2 separate regions of the Homo sapiens genome follow, and region 1 is linked to region 2. Evidence: promoter capture Hi-C in 16 types of primary human blood cells and fetal thymus (Javierre and others, 2016). All regions are on one chromosome and are shown on one strand. The core of a region is centred on a gene start or on the middle of the fragment in contact, and the rest is flanking DNA. Distances in the headings are between cores, read along the strand shown. Region 1 overlaps SORCS3 (sortilin related VPS10 domain containing receptor 3). Region 2 holds the start of SORCS3 (sortilin related VPS10 domain containing receptor 3).

Region 1 (6,733 bases), core at 836-3,335, 280 kb after region 2:
AGTATTGATATGAAATGCACGAAGCTGCTTCAGTCAAAGTTGTCCTAGACTGCTGTTCTGTGGCATGGTGGCATCAGCATTATTTTAATGACCTTGACCCACTCTGACTATTTGATGTGAATTTTGTATACCCGGTTGTTTGCCTTTCTCCAGCCATTGGCCAATTAACTCATTGCCCAGGTTTGAGCCCAACTTCCTTATGGGAGCCCAGAATTGCTGAATGTGTCTGGTTGGTACTTGAAGATGAGGAATAGTATATTAGCTCTGGAAGCAAGAGAGTGTATGGTTTGCCTCCCAGAGGAGTGGCTCCATTATGGTGGGGCTAGTAAGCTCTAGCTCACAGCTTCTCCTTCCCCTTGCATGAGATAAACATCCCTGGGTTCCCAGAACTCATTACTGTCAGTTGTTTCTTGTCCTCAGGCCCATGCAGAATGGCAAGTGCCAAGGTCAAGTCTGCTGTGCTTTGTAAAAACAGGCTGAAGGCTTTGTGCCTTAACTAGAGAGGAGCCTGACTCCCATGGGCGAGCTTATTTGAGAATGAATCTTTGAGTGGACAGAGAAATGCAGGCATGTTATTGTCTAATTACTCTGGCTCCAAAGTGACTGCCACCTGCAACTTTGGAGACAGTGCATTGGAAATGGCAGAGAGCACACACTGGTCTAACAGCCAGAGAATGTGACCAAATTACTATAGTTAGAGGTACATGTCTCTCTCTCTCTCTCTCTGTGTGTGTGTGTGTGTGTGTGTGTGTGTGTGTGATGAAAACTATAAGGTCTGACATCAGTATAGGCTAATGAGTTCTTTCTATTGAGCTTCTAATAAGTTCTAGGCACTGGGCTAAGTTCCTTACTACACTTTATTCTAAGTTTTACTATTAATCTCCTGAGCGTGGTAGTTTTATCCTCATTTGACAGACGAAGAAACTGAGGCTCAAGCAGATAGACACTTAATTTTGGAAAATAGCTAATAAGAGGGGGTCCAGGATTCCTGTTCACCTCTATCTGCCCACAGGGTTGGTGCCACTACCACAGGTATAAAGACCAGGTGAGTTGTAATCATCACTCTATTAGTGGTAACCCTGTTGCCTGGGGTTTTCTGTTCATTAGTGTTAGAGGATTAGCAGTTTCTTGGAGGAGGAGGGGAATATTACATCCTGCATTCCTAATTGATTTACCAGTGAGAAGGATAATTACTTTCAGGCTACCCTGCAGAAATATAGTGGGAATTACCAGTGAGATTCTTACAGTGAGCAAGCTGCTTTTGTCAAGCTGTTCGAGAGGCACCGCGTGTGTGGTCGGAGGCTGGTTATGCCAATGTCGCTCTCTGGATACAACACATAACCCTGAACTATCTTTAAAATGCTGGAAAACCTTTAACCAAAACATAGCACAGAATTTTAAAATACCAGACTCCTAAGATAGTTGCAGGGTCAGGGAAAGTAAGTGGCAGGGTAACACATTTTCAGTCCACAAATATTAAAGTCTCTTACACTAAAGTAAGGCCAAAAAGGTGGAAAGGTAATTTTAGGCTGTTGAACAATCTTTTAAAAATGTCTACCTCTGAGCAAAGTATGTTTTGAGGGAGGGAGTTTCCTGCTTTCAGAAATGTGCAATTCACCTGGGCAGACAAGATGCACCGAAGAAAATGACTGCTACATAGACCTAGGTCTCAAATTCGGATGCATGCAGGGGCCAGAAGATAATGGCAAGGAAGATGTGGGCCAGGTAGAGACTTGGAAGCCCCTCTGTAAAGGGCCTTTTGCCATTAGGCTCCAAATGACTGTTGTCATGTGAAAATGAGGGCCCAGCATAGCCAGTTATTGTTAACATCCTTGCTATTATGTTCTGAGTTTTAAAGATATTTTTCTATATAGATTTTAATATGAAACATCCGTGTTTTGAAATATTTAGGAGGTGGAGTTCAGGGTTTGGGGGCTAACAGGCTGTACCAAATCTACTGTTATCCCTGTTTCCAGTTGGCAGCATGTGGCATATTCAAGTGGTAACTAAGTCTACAGGTGAAAAGTTGGTATTTGCAAAGTGGTCTTTAGAGTCACAGGAGAACACTTCGTAGACTCTCTTGCTGGGGACCTGCACTGATACCCTTATATGTGTGAGAGATAAACTAAGTCAAGTGTGGCTTACAAAGATTTCCCTTTGACTCAGAGGAAGCACATGGTTGATCCTTCAGTGCAAAGGGACTTTTTGTGTCATTGTAGGGTAAGACCACTAGAGTAGGGGTAGGGGGCAGATGTCTGCTTTCTGCTTCTGGTTTTGCCCCTGAGCAACTCAGTGTCTTTATATAGGCCACTTCCCTCCCAGGGCTTTCATTTCTCTATTTGTATAATGGCAAGTTTATGTTCTATGCTTTTCGAAGCCCCTTCCAGCTCAGGTCGTCTGGATGGCCACCATTTAGACAGTGTTTTTCAGAGGGCTTTGCAGTACCATGTGATGATCCACATTTAATTTCTGTGGCTCATTGGATAGCCAGTTGGGAAGTCCTTAGGAAGTGTAATCCTCATAGCTCTTAGTTATATGACTACATGTTGGCTGGCCAAGCCCTTAGGAAGTGTAATCCTCATAGCTCTTAGTTATATGACTACATGTTGGCTGGCCAAGCCCTGTTACCTGGGCTATCTTTTCTGAAGTTACAGTTCCTTGGTCAAAAGGTGGGTCCCTGAAACACACTGGCTCTGCTGGTAGAAGTCAGAGCAGCAGCACTACTTGCTGGCACAATTAAGGGGTTCTATCAGCATGAGCCAATGCAACTTCATAGGAGCATCACACGCATTACCCAGGGACGCTTAGCCCTCCTCCTGCAGGCAAGGGAGTTAGAGATGCTGCCTGTTCTGGTAACCCAGAATAGAGGACACCAAGTGTTGCAATAGGGAGTGGGAGCTTAGCTCTGCTGTACCACACTCCCTCCTTCATGGCCATTGACTTAATGACACATCAACCAGACATCTCTCCTCTGTGAGCCTTTCTTTTTCTCTTCGTAACATGTGCATAATAACCTGTCTGTTAAGGAGCAAAGAAGTCTCTGTTAGTGCTAGTATCTGTTTCTATTCATAAAGGCAACAAGTGTCTATGATAATAATGACAATGATAGTAAAAATAATAATACAAGAAGGAGCTAGAGTTTTTTGAGAGTTTGCTATGTGCTGAAAATTATCCTAAATGCTTCCAATGAATTAACTCATTTAATACTTCAACAGAAACTCTATGATGTTGGCACGATCATCATGCAATTTGCAGATGATGGATATTTGGTACTGAGATGTTAGCCATTTGCTCAGATTTGTTGCTGATGGTCATGTGCCTTGGTCTAATATGCTCATTTAACTCGTTTCCATTCATATTTAATTCTTAGACTCACTGCATATTGGAGCTTAAAGGGCTCTCGGAGACTGTGCAGACCCTCATTGAACAGAAGAGGCCACTCAGGGACTTGTCTGAGGTCATAGAGTCACTTGCCTCAGAGCTGGGGCGGGAGCAGTTTACAGACTCCTAGTCTAGTATTCTCTGCCAAGCCCATAAGGCTGGTGACAGCTGGAGAATTCTGATCTGATAGAGAACCTTGACTGAGAATAAGGTGAGCACAAATATGAAGTGGTAGGAAAATAGCATTCCACGTCGGTCCTGCTGAATGTCAGTTGTGTCTCTACGGCTTACAGAGATATCCACAGCCTCTCAGTACTCCACTCTCAAAGCCCAAAGGGTATTGCAGCTGGAATCTCATTTCAAATGAACCTGGGTGGGAAACCAAGGACTTGCATTCAAAACTGCCCAGAATGGTTGAGCAGCATGACAAAGGCCAAATGGCTTGATAAAGGAGCAAGAGGCTGGGTCCCTGGGAGGTGGGCTATCTGGGAAAAGAATCAGGATTTCTGTTTTAAGCCTTTCTGTTAACTACCTGTATGGCACTGAGAAGTCATTTAAATTCTCTGATCCTCACCTTCTCAATTTGTAAAATGGGGATAAAAGATCACTTACCTGTCCCCTTCTTTCAGAAGCATAACTAGCATGTTAGATATATTGTATGGGAGGGTTGTTAGCATTTTTTTATGAATTGTTCTTAATACTGTCCACTAGCTCCCATGCCTGGCCAGCAAAATGCTTTAATTTTTTTAAAAAAATTTACTTTAAGTTCTGGGATACATGTGCAGAACGTGCAGGTTTGTTACATAGGTATACATGTGCCATGGTGATTTGCTGTACCTATCAACCCGTCATCTAGGTTTTAAGCCCTGGCTGCATTAGATATTCTTCCTAATGCTCTCCCTCCCCTTTCCCCTGACAGGCCCCAGTGTGTGATGTTCCCCTCCCTGTGTTCATGTGTTCTCATTATTTAACTCCCACTATGAGTGAGAACATGCGATGTTTGATTTTCTGTTCCTGTGTTAGTTTGCTGAGAATGATGGTTTCCAGCTTCATCCATGTCCTTGCAAAGAAAATGAACTCAAAATGCTTTAATTTTTAACTGTAGAACACATGACTCGGTTGTCTTTTTCTCTTTTTTAAGAAAAGTAAATGCCGAATTAGGGGAATTAACATAGGCATGTTGCCTTATGTTAGAATGACCAGGTTAAACCACTTAATTTTTTTGTCCAAGGCAAACATGATATAAGGAATATGCACTACCAGAATAACTCCCCCTGGTGGCAGAAACCATGCTCCAAGCCCATCTGAGGCGCTGACTGCTTTTTGCCCCTTTTCAATGGGCATTGCCCTGATAGTGTGAATCCCATCAATTCAGCAGATGAGTGGGGAAATGAATATTTTCCCCCAAACCTTTAGGAAAAAGCAGGTTTTTGTTTGTTTGAGGCTTTTGGGTTTCTTTTTCCTCTTTTGTTTTTCATTTTTAAATCTTGAATGTTATTATTGAAGGCTGCAGGTATGGCAGACAATGAGCAGGTGAAGAACCAATGGTAAAGTGTCCCAAAACTGACATGTTAGCTAACAGGCTTCTGAATGAATTGCTGTGGTCCACAGAGGAGGCTGGAGAAGGTAGCAAGGAGATGCTGTATCAGTTACTACAGCCTTAAAACAAAGTTGGTGTCTCTTTGGACTTTCAAATTGCTCCTATGCAGCTTATTTTATTTTTGTTTAATCAAATAAGAGAGCCTTTCCATGGCAAAAAATAAAGAACATATCTAGGAAAAATGAGAGTTGTAATTTTGTTTGAAAGAAATGAGCTACAGAAACAGAAAGATTGTTACTACTGGGATGGAGCTGGCATCAAGATTGCAGACTGGAAGCCAGGGTCCGGCTGCCTGGCTGTGCCTTTAGTGCTGACCGCAGTGGCTGCTGGGCCTCCCCTCCTGAGCTGTGAGCTGCCTGCTTTCAGGCTTCCTTGGAGAGGATGCAGCTCCCAGAGGCTTGGATTTTTAAAGAGCCTCATGTCCTGCCTTATCCAGGAGGCATGCTGCCACTTTCTCTTTCCCCATCTTCTTCCTTGTCTCTTAAAACCAGACTTGCTGACTGCCTGAGAAAGACTGATTGTTCTGCTCATGGAGAGAAATGGTCCCACTTTTGTTAATTCACAGCCATCTCATTTTTTCCTGCTTCATAAATTAACATAGTTACCAAGCGGCTAGAGCAGTGTTTTGGAGATGGGTTTAGGGGAAAATGTATGAAAGGAAGAAGTAAAAAAAAAGGAAAAGAACAAAACATGAACCAAACCTCCCTCATTTACTGATTCCACGTCCAAATGTTTTTCTTCTTGGTGTATCCAGAAAAAGAACCAGAAAAGACTCCTTGCACCCCAAAAGGGAAAGTATCAGATCCCATTAGGGCTAAGAAAGCAGAAAGGAGAATCAATGAGGGGGCAGACACCGGTCTAGGAGTTTCCATCTGCCTTCGCAAGTGTGACCCAGCAATGGAATGGCTGCGAATGTGCTTCCATTCAAACTCATCACTTAAAGGAAAAAGAATCTAGAGTAATTCTTGGAAATTCAGTCTTAAGTCACAAATGTCTCTTTCTCAGCAAATATAGGTATATGGTTCTTTGTATAAATTACTGCAGTGTGCTCTGGCCAAGAATTTATTTAAAGGCTCATTAAAATGATTACTAGTTTTTTCTTTTGCATTTTATTTGAAAATGGGAAGAATATAAACCTATCCTGGCTCTTCTCCAAAGTGCCCTTTAGGGTTTGCATCGAGTATATCGTAATTTTTTTAAAAATAAAGATAATAATGATTTGCATTAAGATTATCCAGACATTTTAGAGGAATAATAAAAATTAGTCACTTAGTGTACTTTTTAGGTGCTTATGTTTGCTCAATATCTTTTAAAATTTTTATTTCTATTGTTGAAGTTTTTATGTGTCTGTATGTGTGTATATGTGCATCTAGGTGTGTATAAAACATTTTTCACAAAGTATTATGAAAACTTGAGAGTTAAGAAATATGAAAAAATGTCTGTTTCTCTTCCGTGTGAACTCTGATTTGGGCTGAACCAAGGATTTAGGGAAGCTTGTATTCCTGGATGGCCACATACAATGCTGGTTCCATTTCACTGCCTGGCTCATTTAGCCATCATAGTTGCTCAATAAAGCCTCTGAGAAGGGATTCCATTTGAGGTTAAATGGCAGCCAAGGACACACAGTAATTGTTTAGGCAGAGCCAGTGATAGGAGCAGGAAAATCAAGGGTGCAACCCAGATGAGAGGTCATTGATCTGTATCTTGAGAGAGTCAGGCTGGATAAGAGAAAATAACAACACAGTGAACATT
Region 2 (6,938 bases), core at 1,526-4,025:
GCAAAGGGTGAAGGAGGGAGAGGCTGCAGGTGGAAGAAGACTGTAATTGATGGGAGCAAGGCCAAGAAAACGAACTGGTGCAGGAGGCATGTGAAAATGTCACACTTGCGGGAGTCTTTCCTTTTTTGTTTGTTTTCAAACAAAAGCTTTTAAGCTACATCTCCTCAAGCCCATCCCAAGGATCCAACTCTGCCCGGGTTCCATCTGGTAGGGCCTTCTTCAGACAGGAGAGACAGAAGGAGGCCCCTCTCAGAGCGTCTGCCTCTTTTGCACCCGACTGCTCCTGCTCAGAGGCCGCGGGAAGCTGCGGGGACTGGATGGTGCACCTCCCCAGTGCGCATAGGACTTGGGAGACCACACTCCTCCGGGCTGTGTGAGCCTCGGGTCCGCCCAGATCTCTTATACTGTGGCACCTCCGCCCAGAGCCTGAAGAGAAGAGCAGCACCGCGTCCCTCCCGAACCCCGAGCTTCGGCTCGGGCTGCAGCGCCGGGCCTCCTCCGGCAGGGGCGCTGGGAACTCGCGGATGGCCGGCTCTCGTCCAGCGCCCGATCCCGCGCCCACCTGGGCCTGCGGCGCTGGAACTTTTCTTAGGAATACCCGCTACTCCCTGTCTTTGGAAACCCACAGATGCCAGGACCCGCACCATTCTGGGCCGGACGTTGTCGCTGGCTTGGTTCTTTGGCCCAGCCTCCCCCGCTGCTAATTGCCATTTTGGCACCGGGTGGAAAGGCAAGTTCAAGAGGGCGGGGGCTCTCGGGAATCGCTGGATGTCTTCTTCCTTGGCCAGCTTAGATTCTCAGTCGCCTCTTCTGCCTCCTCCATCCCTCTTGGCTCTTACCTGGCGCCCTTTCGCCTCCTCTTCTATCTCCCTCTTCCTTTTGCACCATTCTCTCGCCCCTTTTCTCCTTCATCTTGTCTTTCCTCTCTCCCCTTTTCCCTCTATTTTCTCCTTCATTCCTTCCTCTCACCTTTCTTTCCTCTCCGCGCATTCCCCTCCCTCTCGCTCCACTTTAACCATCTTCTAGAGAGGAGGAACTCTATCTACTCCCGAAGGGGAGGAGCAGGGCTGGAGGCTGTCTCTCTCTCCCTAAGCCTCCTCCCTCCTGCCTCCTCCTTTCTTAATAGCTCCTCCTCTAGCTCCTCTAGTCTCAGACTTTTCAACCCCTAGAATCCCAGGGGCTTCTCGGAGGCGGCGAGCTACACCACATGTCCTGGGGCCTGTAAACCGCAGCTCGAGGTCGTCTGTGGGTTTAGCTCATTTCCCTTCAGCCCACCTGAAGTCTCCTTCTTCCTACGGTCACGAAGGATCTCAGCTGCACCAAGCGCGCAGGCTACACTCCTGCAGTAGCGGATTGGGGACCAGATAAGCCCACGCGGCTCCCGCCTGAGTACCCTCTTAACTGGCGGCCGACACTTTGAAACAATTGAGTCCGTTCAGAAACGGACTGGGGAGAGTGAGGGCACGACCTCAAAATCCTAGGCAGCAAAATGAGGTCTGGATCCTCCCTGGAAGAACAGACATCTCGACTACTCTCTCGCCCCACCTCTGGCCGGGAGGTCGGGGCAAGGAGAATCCCTCAACCGAGAAGATCTGGCAAGTCCCCGATCCCACCGGGGCCTTCCGCCTCTTTTCCCTCATCCCCTAGGAGGCTTTATCAGGTTCTAACCGCTTGTAGTGGGGGCCGTGGGTGCTCGGGGCGCCAAGAGGAGGGGGCTGCCGAGAGCGGCCTGCCTAGTTCTCAGCATTGCCTCTTTGACCACTCGCAGGCTCCTGGAAATGCAAACACAGCCCGTGCGTGATCCGCACGCGACCAAAAGCCGAGCGCACACCTCCCGCCCCCGCCCCACTTGCCATCGCTCACACTAACGTGCACACATGCTCGTGCAAACGCGCACGCACGGAACCGCGCGCCCCCTCACACCCAGCCGCGCTCCCGGCCCGGCTCAGCCAGGTGCCCCCACGCGGCAGCGCCCGGTCTGCCCGCCGGCCCCCTGCGAACCCCTCGCCTCACGCCCGCCTGCCTGCGCGCACGCACGCGCACGCACGCATTCCCCACGCCCCCGCGCGGGGGCGCAGGCCTTGGGTGGCGGGGTTTGGCCGGGAGCCGGCCGGGCCAGGGAGCGGCGAGCAGAGTCCAGGGTGCATCCCGCGCTTGGCTTCCGTGCGCAGCCTCCCCGCGCGGAGGCACCTGGCTCCCTCTCGGCTCTAGAACGCGAACAGTTGGCGTTGAGCACACAACTCCTCCTCCTTCTCCCCCGAGACCCCTGTACCCTCCCCGCGCGCCATCTCCCGCCCCTCATAACAGGCCCGAAGAGTAAACCCCCAAACGCGTCCAGAAGCGGCTCCCAACTCTTCGCCGGGAGCACGTTGGAGGCTGGATTTCGGAGAGACTCGGGATTGGGGTCTATTGCCGGCCCCTCCTGGATCCGGCTTGATTTTCATATTTTAAGAAGATTTTCTTATTACCTTTGATTACTCCTTTTTACCAAATTTCTGGAGGAGCTCAGTGGGGAGGATTGGGGGGAATCTGATTTTAAGAAAGAAAGCACCGAAGGGGCAATTATTAATTTTCCTCGGGTTTGGAATCACCCTCTGGACAAGAGAACGGGCGAGCGGGAGCTAGGAGGGAAGAGTGGAGAGGACCGGCGAGGCGCGCCAGCCGGAGCCACCTCCTTCCCGGCCGCCCCCTCCCCACTCCCCCTACACACACACGCTCGCTCGCTCGCCGGCGCGCGCACACCCCCCGCGCCGGACCCGCACCTCGGCGGGCGCCACACACTCGGCAGCCCGAGCCGCGGTAGCCGCAGCGGGATGGAGGCGGCGCGCACGGAGCGCCCCGCAGGCAGGCCGGGGGCGCCGCTTGTCCGGACGGGGCTCCTACTCTTGTCGACGTGGGTCCTGGCCGGCGCCGAGATCACTTGGGACGCGACAGGCGGTCCCGGACGCCCGGCGGCCCCGGCTTCGCGGCCACCGGCGTTGTCTCCACTCTCGCCGCGGGCAGTGGCCAGCCAGTGGCCGGAGGAGCTGGCGTCGGCGCGGAGAGCCGCCGTGCTGGGGCGCCGGGCCGGACCAGAGCTGCTGCCCCAGCAGGGCGGCGGCAGAGGCGGTGAGATGCAGGTGGAAGCCGGAGGGACATCACCGGCAGGCGAGCGGCGGGGCCGGGGCATCCCAGCTCCTGCCAAGCTTGGCGGCGCGAGGAGGAGTCGCCGGGCGCAGCCCCCAATCACCCAGGAACGCGGGGACGCCTGGGCCACTGCTCCGGCCGATGGTTCCAGAGGAAGCCGTCCCCTTGCTAAGGGTTCCCGGGAGGAGGTGAAGGCGCCGCGGGCTGGGGGGTCGGCGGCTGAAGACCTCCGGCTGCCCAGCACCTCCTTCGCGCTGACCGGGGACTCGGCCCACAACCAAGCCATGGTGCACTGGTCGGGACACAACAGCAGCGTGAGTACCCACCCGGCGGCGGGTCCGCCTGTTTCCTGACACCGAAGGGGAATGGGGGGGTGGGTGGGAGCGAGGGACAGATAGTTGCTCGGGGGTCGAGGCGGGGGACGCCTCGACTTTTCGAGATAACAGGTTTGTCCGATTCCCCCCACGCCCCCAACAGGTTAACGGAGTTTGTTGTTAGACGCTGTGTGTGTTTGTTTACTGGAGACCCTAGGCTTCGGCCGCCGGGAGGGGAGTGGAGGAAGGGGCTTCTTAAAGATGAGTGGGGGAGGGATCTGTGCTCACTTTCTCCAATACTTGGCTTGGAGGGTCAGTTTTCCTGTTTGCGGGGTGCTTGAATTCTTGGATGAGAAAAAGGGCTGACTTGGGGCGGGAGCCGCTGAACAGACCGATTCCTGCGGCTGCCGGGCTCCCCCTACCCCCACCCCACCCCCACCCCCCCTCCCGTCACGCGAAAGGGAACCCGGAAGGCCATTCGGACTCCCAGCCTCCTGCTCGCCTCGGGGTCGCTGCTATCCGCTCCAGGCGCGCAGTCCTCCAGCCCAAGAGGGAGGCTCGGCCAAGTCGGCCCCCAGCCTTGGCCTTCAGGTAACCCCGGTTCCTCCTTCAAAGTCCAGGGAGCGGCCCTGGAAAGCCGTAGCAGAGGCCGTAAAAAAAAGTTTAAAGCGTGAAGCGAAATTCCACACCCATCCAGCGCTCATGCCACACCGCTCGCCCTCACGCACGCACAGGCACACGGAAGTCGCTCAGCAGAAAACTCTCGACTTCACCATTGCGTCCTGCGCCACAAACGGCTCCCTGAGCGGAGTTGGGTGCCTGAGCTTCCTGCACACCTCTCCACCCGCTTTTCCCCGCCACCGGGTTCTCCTGGACAAGGATGTACCGAGAGGTGGCGTCGTTGAGCCCGGTCTGGCCTACTCCGGCATTCCGAACTGGGCGCCCGACTGAGCATCGCGCCTGCCTGGCAGCTGCAGCGGCCCGCAGCGCGTGCCCGGAGGGGCTCCCCCTACCTCGCCGGCACCCAGCGCTGTGCAGCCAAGCAAAGAAAAGGCGGGGGACAGGTTCCCACCATCTCCCCGACTTCCCTCCCTCCCGCGGTCCCTACTAGAGCCAGATTTGGAAAATCCTTTCCTCTTCTCTGGCTCCATGGTTCAGATCAGAACCTGGCGTTGGGTAGGGTGCACGCTCCAGGCGGAGGATGACGGGTGTCTGTACAAGCAGCCTTGGGGAACTGATTTGATAGGAACTCACCCCGCAACTCCCTGCCGTTTTGTATTTCTCTTCATGACCGGTGTTTGACAAAATTTCTCTGGGAAATTTTTGCCTTATTTTAACAGAGCCTGGGATGTCCAGGATTGGGTATCTAATAAGAGGAAAGCGAGGGGTCCGCAGAAGGTAGTACATAAGCAATACCAAAGTGCAGATTTCTTGGTTTCTAATGATGCACAGCGCGGGCAGCCCAGCCTGGGTAGCCCATGCTGGTCTTGAAGGACCAGTGAAGTCCAGCTTCGCAGCAGCGCGATGGCGGGCTTCATCTGCCTGGGATGAAGACCCCCGTAGCCTCGGGCTGACAGCTCTGGCGAGAGGGGTGGACAATGTGTGCCTTTGCAGGGCTGGGTGATTGAAGACTTCCAAGTCCCTTCCAAGAGGACTTGGATATGTGTGTGCTGGGGGGAGATTCTCTGACCTCAGGGTTGATTCTCTGACAGCAGGGGTTGTGAATCCCAACTTCATTTTAGTTTGATAATTAGGGTGTGTGTGTGTGTGTGTGTGTGTGTGTGTGTGTGTTGGGGTTCTTACTTGGTGAGGAGGATGGATGGATGGATAGGATGTGTGGAAGTAAATATATCCTAGGAAGAGGAGGATGCAATGTCTTTACATCTGTGGCTTCCCTACTGCCACATTAGGACAATATAAATTCACCCTCCCTGAAGAGTTTTTCTGTGTCTCTGCTTTTATTTTAAGGATTATTTTTGAGTATTTACAAAGCCTCTGAAGATGGGACTTTAGAGAAAATGCTTCCTGCAAATAGCAGTTAACTGTGCATGGCCTTCTTTGCTCATCTTCAAAGCAGTTGTGCAGCAGAAGAGGTGAGGGGCAGGTCTGGCCCGTGCTCCCTGGGGAAATGACTCTTCAGTCAAATGACGGCCAAAGGGGCTTGGGGACTGGAGCAGTTGGGCTTGGAGACCTTGGTGACAGCAATGAGATTGGACAATGTATGAACAGCCCACAGGGACTTATTGGTTGTGCTCTTGGCCAGCCTTACTGCCCATGCAAGAGCACCACAGGTGGATGTAGGGCCACGCACTGTCCTCTCTCTCCAATCTGGGGAATAACTGCCTCTTTAGCCCCTAGGCTGGACCTGTCTCTTCTGACCACATTTTGTAGGCAATACGAGAGAGAGATCCTTGATTATCAGGTCTGTGAGCCTGTGTAAAGAAGATGGAGAAGCATACTCACATGGCCCTGTCTTTGAGACTTTAAGGAAATCTCCTGGAGAGTCACTGGGAAACCAGTTTCAGCAACATTGACCCAGCTGGTTTTTCTCCTGTCCCCCTTTCCTGATGGCAGGAAAAGAAGGTGTTGTAAATAAAAGCCAGGGTGAAGAGTGATGGGGATGAGGACACTTTGGGAAGATTCCTTCATCATTGGTTTCAAAGTGGAGGGAGATGTCCGTAAAACAGAGAACATGGGGCCTAGCTCCAGGCTCTTATGACGTGGAAAGAGAATTTTATCTTTTATTCTGGCTTCTGGAGTATTAGACATGTCCTTATTCAGGAGGCCACCAGTTTAATTTTTAACACAATGAGGGTTTCCTTGCTCTTCTTCCAAGTGTCTCTGATGCACCTGATTGCTTGATATGAGTTCCCTTTTGGGGAGCGTTTTCAGTAACCCTATGAAATTGAAAATTGAACTCCATTCTGACTGAGTTTACAGTCAGGGATGCAGGGTGGGACATGAAGGAGAAGGGCCTTCAGCCCACCCCATTGGTCCAGTGTGTGCCCCAGGTGGTTGAGGGTGCAGGAGGAGACCCTTGACCAAGGCTTGGGCTGGGTATTTGCCTTGGTCCCAGGACTGAGAAGAGATGGCTTTGGGGACAAAGGAGAAGGAGTGCAACTGGCTTTGGGCAAAGGAATCAGGAGGGCATGGGATCTGGGTACCACCTCTTGACCATGTTGCCTGCCAGGTGCTCTGGCTGGAAAGTGAGTGGACTTGGCCTTGGACCCTTTACTCTGGAGGAGCGATTTGCTATTTTTTCTCTCCAGTTGCCTCCAGCTGGAATCCTGGTGATTAATGGGTTAGAGAGTGTTTCAAAAACACCCAGAGGGAGCCCAGTCCCCGTGGCTTACAGGGAAACAGAAAAACACATTATTCTGTCCTTTTCCTTCAAATGAAAGAAGAAGCCTCCCTGCTTGCTCAGTGAGTTGGCAAATGGCTCTGGAGAGTGGAAAGTTGTGAAGGCACAGTCCACTTCTCCACACCCCCTCCTTCTTG

What was found. The method cuts DNA at HindIII sites, captures the fragments that hold promoters and counts their contacts. A CHiCAGO score of 5 or more calls a contact.
Region 1: a contact is called between a fragment that was not itself captured here and the fragment with the promoter of SORCS3 in region 2, in 1 of 17 cell types (M2 macrophages). The highest score is 5.7, in M2 macrophages.

Annotation. Positions count from the first base shown.
Region 1 is chr10:104,920,779-104,927,511 of GRCh38, forward strand. The region is part of intron 3 of SORCS3 (sortilin related VPS10 domain containing receptor 3); the gene reads left to right. Among named protein-coding and RNA genes, the nearest start is that of SORCS3-AS1, 260 kb to the left of the region's middle. The HindIII fragment of the contact is 8,773 bases long and covers 1-6,472 here.
Region 2 is chr10:104,638,515-104,645,452 of GRCh38, forward strand. It overlaps SORCS3 (sortilin related VPS10 domain containing receptor 3), which reads left to right and starts at 2,776. Exons shown (of 27, transcript NM_014978.3): 1 at 2,776-3,440. The coding sequence starts at 2,814. The HindIII fragment of the contact is 3,039 bases long and covers 145-3,183 here.